Regions from separate parts of the Homo sapiens genome. Here region 1 is linked to region 2. Evidence: promoter capture Hi-C in human tissues and cell types (Jung and others, 2019). All regions are on one chromosome and are shown on one strand. The core of a region is centred on a gene start or on the middle of the fragment in contact, and the rest is flanking DNA. Distances in the headings are between cores, read along the strand shown. Region 1 overlaps SPPL3 (signal peptide peptidase like 3). Region 2 holds the start of CABP1 (calcium binding protein 1).

Region 1 (3,205 bases), core at 495-2,994, 160 kb before region 2:
TTTGTCCATTTAATTTATATAGTATATTTTAACAGCTTTATTGAGAGATAAATACCATAAAGTTTGGTCACTTAAAGTATACAATTCAGTGGGTTTTAGTTTATTTACAAAATTGTTCAGCCGTCACTGTAATCCAATTTTAGCACATTATCATCCCAAAAGAAAATTTGTACCAGTTAGCAGTCATTCCCATTCCTCTTTCCCTGCCCGCCAGCCCTAGGCAACCATGAATCTACCTTTTATCTCTATAGATTTGCCTATTCTGGACCTCTCGTATAAGTGGTGTCATACAGTATGTGACCTTTTGTTACTGGCTTCTTTCACTTAGCATGTTTTTGAAGTTTATCTGTGTTGTAGCATGTTATCAGTATTTCATTCCTTTTTATTACTGAATAATACTTTTTGTTTTTCCATTCATTGGCTGATAGACGTTTGGGTTGTTTCCCTTTTTTGGCTTTTATGAATAATGTTACTGTGAACATTTGTGTACAAGTTTCTGTGCAGACATAACATATTTATTGCCCTCAAGCAGATACCTAGTAGCAGAATTGCTGGGTCTAATGGTAACTCTTAGTCTTAACATTTTAAGAAATGCTTCTGTTTTCCAAGGCAGCTATGCTATTGTACATTCCCACTAGCAATGTATGAGGTTTCCAATTTCTCCACTTCTTCACCAACACTTGTTATTATCTATCTTTATGATTATAGCTATTCTACTGTTCTGGTGGGTATGAAGTGGTATCTCATTATAATTTTGGTTTGCATTTTCTTAATGCCTACTGATGTTGAGCATCTTTTCATGTGCCCATTTGCCATCTATGTCTCTTCTTTGGTGTCTTTTCAACTCTTCTGTCCATTTTTAAATTGGGTTTTCTTTTTCTTGTTGAATTTTGAGTGTTCTTTCTTTATTGTGAAAATGGGTTTTTGTTATAAGTGCCTCTGGGTTTGTCTTTTCACTTTCTGTATGCTTATAATTGTTATCTATTTCTTGACTTTTATAAAATGTTCCTCTTTATCTCTAGTAACAGTTTCTGTCTTAACATTGTCCAAAAAAGGCTATTTAGATTTTCTTGAGTTAGTTTTTGGTCATTTGTATTATAACTCAAGAGTAACTAGTTCCTTTTTTGTAAAGGCAAGCACCTACCAATGCTTTCTTAGGTAATGAGGGCAGTTCATTTACGTATACCCAAACCTACTCTAGGAAGACAACATCAGGTTAGTAAGCCTGCAGAGATGCTGAGTTCTTTAATAAGAACTATACTTGATATGATTGTGATGCCCTTCATTCTAAGTGCATATAATTGTAGTTAGACCATGGTTCACCAGAACAAGTGTCACTATGGTTCACAATTGTCATGATGTTCTAATTGTGTGTAATATGTTGATTAACTTTTGAGCTACCCTTTTTGTCATTCCATAACTCGTCCTACTTGAAGAAAACATCATACACAGAAGCCTGAACTTGTTAGATGACGTAGGGAATGATTTTGTCCATTGCAGCGTGTGTAGACAAGTTTTTTTATATATTTAAGAATTTCATCAATTCACTATTAAATGTTCAATTTATAAAACCACTGTAAGTTTTCTAGGAACACATATTTAACTTAACCTAACTTTAACCATGTAATGTTTACCTTGAACCAGTGAGTCCCCGCTTCATTGTACTCACTTTCAATAGTAGAATTATCAAAAAACTTTCTTTTTAAAATTTTTTATAAATTAAAATTTTATTATTTTTTCATTTTTTCACTCCTTTCTGGAGCTGAGAAAAAAATAATGTTAAGGTTAAAAATTCCAATTTGCTTTTCTCCTCCAGTAATTCACAGTGTCCTCAGGTATCAGAATGCAAATGGATGAACGAGTATAACTTTCAATAAACTGATCTGCTCTCCCCTCCATTTTGCTTCCTACAATTGTTTATTTGTGCTCTTCACTGCCCGATTTCAGAGCATGTACTAACTTTTGCAAGTTACTTCAAGGAAAAATAAAATGGGGCCAAAGAAAACTAAAAGTATGAGTGGAGACAAAATAGAGCCAAAAAAGAAATGTAAAAATGCATACCATAATGCCAGCACTCCTGTTACTAGTGTTTCACAAGGACCACCATAAGCTTTGTAGCAGCCAGATTTAAAAAGAAAGAATGTAAAACTCAGCTTCCTTCCATCAAAAGAACTCAGTTGTTCAGGTGAATCGCAACTGTTCTTGGCCTTAAGATCAGACAGACTTTTATCCTAACGACCTTCATAAAGAGGATATAATGTTAAGTTCATTCATCTCACAGTAGGCATTCAAATAAGTGTTTGTTGAATGAATTGTAGTACCTTCAATATAAGTTGGTGGCATTGCATGAAAATGTATTTCAGCAAAAGCAGTTTTGCCAAAATTGAAGGTGCACAGTGGGCAACAGGATGTTGTTGTTTAGATAACCATCTTACTGCTAAGTGTGGTCTAAGGTTATATTTTGGAATATCTGGAGAATGAATGGGCTGTTAATTCTTAAACTGGTTATTCTTGAATGTTGATCTGTTAATAAATATTGGTAGCAGACCAGGCACGGTGGCTCACGCTTGTAATCCCAGCATGTTCAGAGGCCAAGGTGGGAGGATCACGTGAGGTCAGGAGTTCCAAGACCAGCCTGGCCAACATGGTGAAACTCCATCTCTACTCAAAATACAAAAATTAGCCAGGCGTGTTGATGCATGCCTGTAATCCCAGCTACTCAGGAGGCTGAGGCAGGAGAATCGCTTGAACTGGGAGGCAGAGGTTGCAGTGAGCCGAGATTGCGCCACTGCACTCCAGCCTGGGCCACAAACTGAGACTCCATCTCAAAAAGGAAAAAAAAAAAAAATATATATATATATATACACACACACACACACACATATATGTGTATATATATACATATATATGTATATATATACACACATACATACATACATACATATATAAAAGCAGCAGCCCAAAAATGTATTATGTTGCCAGCTAAATACAGACCTAGTTGTCTTAACAGCACTCATGGTGCATTCGTATTTTTATCAGAATGAAGGAACCTAATACCTAAATATAAGCCCATGTTTCCCCTTGTCCTGAGGCAGGCAGTGGAAGTTCCTAAAGGCAGGCCTAGAATCTTCCTCAGAAAATCCTTTTTAATCCACTCTAGGACATAAAGAAATGAGTAGTTGATTTCCTAAAGTTCTGTTCCTTG
Region 2 (3,549 bases), core at 261-2,760:
TCTACTGAGCCTGTTTCCCCAGCAGCACAGCCTCAAACTGTAGACCTATATTGTGACTACGGAGCTGCTTTTAAAGGGCAGGCTCCCAGGTGCCTGGGACTCTTGAGGGAAAGGCCTGAGGGAACCACTGATGACCTCTTTGTGGCCTTTCTCACCCTTCCAATGGCATCCCTAGAGTGACAGCCTCCTTAAACCACCCCAAAGTTCCAGTTTGAGCCACAGCTCTGCATGCCCCTCCATGCCTACCCAGACACCTCTTCTCTTTCCTCATATTTTTGGATCTCCTAACTTTTCTCAGGCCTTCAGGGACATGATAGGCAGTGGCCAGTGTCCCTCGCCCTCAAGTAATTCTGTGTTCTCTGAGGTCCCCTCTCTTGACCCCCAGACTCCAAACCGCTTGCTCTCCTGAGTCCCTCCCTGGCGGTACTGGCCAGAGGCCAGAGGAGTGGGTTTGGCGCCACCTGCTCGGAGCGCCCCTCCTTGACCCCCGCAAATCTCCAGGACGGTCGTAGAGGTCGCTCTCTTCCAGGACTGGCGGGTTCTGGCGGGTATGAGGGAGGCTAGCGGGGAGGGCCTTGCCCCAAGAGGCCCGGAGCGTGGACAGCGCACGGGGTGCTGAATCAGGCACGGGGAGGAGGAGTGCCGGCAAGGGCGCCGGCCCGGGGAGGACGAGGTGAGCCGAGGCGTGATCCGTGGGGGACCACGGGCCGCGGGAGGAGGCTGTGGACGCGCAACCGCGGCCGGCAGGGTCCCGAGCGCCTTTCCCGGGAGCGCTGACGGGAGGCGCGGCCCTTACCTGGCCAAAGGCGGAGCTGAGCATGGGGCGCAGCCGGTGGAGGAACGGGTCCGCCTCGGACGCGGCGGCTGGAACGGAGTCCCCGCGGCCCCGGGCTCGCAGAGAGCCCCGGAGGCCGAGCGCCGGGGACAGTCCCCGTTCCTCCCCATCCCGCCCGCGGGCCGGCGGCAGCGGCGACGACGGCGAAGGTCGGGACGCCGCGGCCGGCAGCGCCTCCCGGGGCCTGCAGTGCGCCTGGGGGAGCACACGCTGGCTCCCCCGCGCGCCCTCCTCTCGCGGCGCCGGCCGGCACAGGGGCCTCCGCGAACTGGGGTCCCCGGACGACTGCGGCGTCGCCGGGCAGGAGCCGGGTAGCCGGCGGCTAGGCAGCCCCGGGTCCCGGGCAGGGCCGTGGCGGGGAGCCCGGCTGCCCCCGCTCGCCGCCGCCGCCGCCGCCTTCAGCAGCGACGTCTTGGACTCGCTTTTGGCGATGTGCGAGCTCATCGCGGCGGGGCCCGCGCTCGCATGGCCCGGCGGGGGCGGCGCGGTGCGGCGCGGCGCGGGGCCCCCGGCGGGCAGAGAACGGGGCTCCCGGCGGGAGCCAAGCCCGAGGACGCGCTGGAGGCGGGCGCCGTCCCCCGGCCGCTTAAATGCGGCCCCGTCGCCGCCGCCCATGTGACAGCGCAGCCTCTACGCCCGGAGCCCGGAGCTCCCGGCGGCTGGCGGTGCAGATCTGGGGGCGCTGCCGGCTGTCCCCGGAGAGCCCACCCCCGGCTCCCTGGCGGCCCAGGTACCGCCGCGCCCCGCCCCTTGCCCCGCCCCGCCCTGGGGGAGCCCCGCTTCCGGGCGGCCCCTGGCGGCGAAGGGGACGCTGCAACGCGGAGCGGGAGCACGAGGAGGGAAGGGGCTTGGCAATGGGCCCCAAAGAGGCCGAGACCCCGGGAGTGCCGGCAGCGCTCTTTATCACGCCTGGAGGCTCCTGCAGAGCCCCGGAACCGCCCGAACCTCCAGAAATGCAGGCAGGGTGCACTCCCCAGGGGGTACAACTTTGGCAATGAGGACTACAGAGGTCCGGGGAGAACCGGAGACCCGAGGAGCATGAAGGCACTCTGTGACATCACTGCCTACAAACGCAGGGGCCGGAATGCAGTGACAGGACACTGCTGGGAGGAAAGTCTCCCAGCGCCTCCGTGTGGGGCTGCCTCCACTCCCAATACCGTGCGGGGGGACTAGGACGACCCTGGTAAGTCAGCCACAGGATATCAGTTCTCAGAATAGAAGAGAAGCCAGGTCTGGCAGCACCTGATGATGGTAAGTCTCAGGTAGGACCCATTTGCTCCCCCTCCAGCTCTTGTCCCCTCTTTCACCTTCCTGCCTTTCTAGATGCTACAGAAATTCCTGCTCTCGGTGGGCAGCCAGGGAGCGTCCCAGGCCTTATCTGAATCTCAAATCCCAGCTCTGCCACCTACCATCTGGGTAACTTGGGCAGGTGTCATCAACCTCTCTGAGCCTTGTTCTCCTCTTCTGTAAAATGCAGATGATAAGCATAACTAATTTCTTGGTAACAGCAGACGATACTATGCACACAAAAGGCCTAGCCCAGTGCTCGGACAGGGGACCATCCAGTTAAGCCAGTTCCCTTCCCCCTGCACATCGTGAGGCCCCATCTACCATTCTTCTTTAGTATCCGGTGCTTGAGCTTTGCGGGGGGCTGGAGGGGTTCCTCCCAGGCTCTCCCTGTTCTGGTCCCTGGCCCCAATGCCATCCACAGTCTTGTCACCGCTCGGCCTCATTAAAAGGATACACGAGGCCGGGCACAGTGGCTCGCACCTGTAATCCCAGCACTTTGGGAGGCCAAGACCGGCGGATCACTTGAGGTCAGGAGTTCGAGACCAGCCTGGCCAACATGGTGAAACCCTGTCTCTACTAAAAATACAAAAATTAGCCAGGCGTGGTGGTGGGCGCCTGTAATCCCAGCCACTTGTAGGCATGAGAATAACTTGAACCCGGGAAGTGAAAGTTGCAGTGAGCCGAGATTGGGTCACTACACTCCAGCCTGGGCAACAGAGTGAGACCCTGTCTCAAAAAAAAAAAAAAAAAAAAAAAAAAAGAAGGGTACACAAACAGATTGCCGATATTACACTTCACTCATGCCAAGAGTTCATCCTTCTCTGCACTGTCTGCTTCTTTACAGAGTGTTGCTCTGTCACCAGGCTGGAGTGCAGTGGCACGATCTCGGCTCACTGCAACCTCTGCCCCCCAGGTTCAAGCGATTCTCCTGCCTCAGCCTCCCGAGTAGCTGGGATTACAGGCACCCGCCACCACACCCAGCTAATTTTTTGTATTTTTAGTAGAGATGGGGTCTCACCATGTTAGCCAGGATGGTCTCGATCTCCTGACCTCATGATCTGCCCGCCTTGGCCTCCCAAAATGCTGGGATTACAGGCGTGAGCCACCGCGCTGGGCCCTGTGTGCCTCTTTTACTTATCCATAGGCAAGGAATTAAGGAAAATGGATGGGCTGGGAAAGCAACTGCCCAGAGGCTAAAGTAAACTAGGAAAGTGTGGCAAATTGTTCCCCAGATCAGCTACCCTTAAGGGACTGAATTGCCATATCAAAGCCACTCAGGTTCCTAAAGCCCAAATCCTGAAGCAGCCTGGGGCGTTGCAGCCCTGAAGGCTCATTGCAGGGTCCTCTGGGATATGCAGGGTGTAATGAGTCCACCCTTTGAGTTCGAGGTCAGTCAATGTCTTACCTGCTCCAGCCCTCAGAAT

What was found. The method cuts DNA at HindIII sites, captures the fragments that hold promoters and counts their contacts. A contact is called where the count stands out against the background at its distance.
Region 1: a contact is called between a fragment that was not itself captured here and the fragment with the promoter of CABP1 in region 2, in 5 of the 25 tissues and cell types used here (adrenal gland, pancreas, small bowel and 2 more).

What each region holds. Positions count from the first base shown.
Region 1 is chr12:120,802,075-120,805,279 of GRCh38, reverse strand. All of the region lies in intron 2 of SPPL3 (signal peptide peptidase like 3), which reads left to right. Among named protein-coding and RNA genes, the nearest start is that of ACADS, 78 kb to the right of the region's middle. The HindIII fragment of the contact is 8,897 bases long and covers 1-3,205 here.
Region 2 is chr12:120,638,587-120,642,135 of GRCh38, reverse strand. It overlaps CABP1 (calcium binding protein 1), which reads right to left and starts at 1,510. Exons shown (of 6, transcript NM_001033677.2): 1 at 797-1,510. The coding sequence starts at 1,450. CABP1-DT (CABP1 divergent transcript) reads left to right here and starts at 1,614. Exons shown (of 2, transcript NR_183426.1): 1 at 1,614-2,086. RefSeq lists silencers at 531-630, 851-1,020, 1,031-1,130, 1,351-1,650 and an enhancer at 3,122-3,549. The HindIII fragment of the contact is 37,846 bases long and covers 1-3,549 here.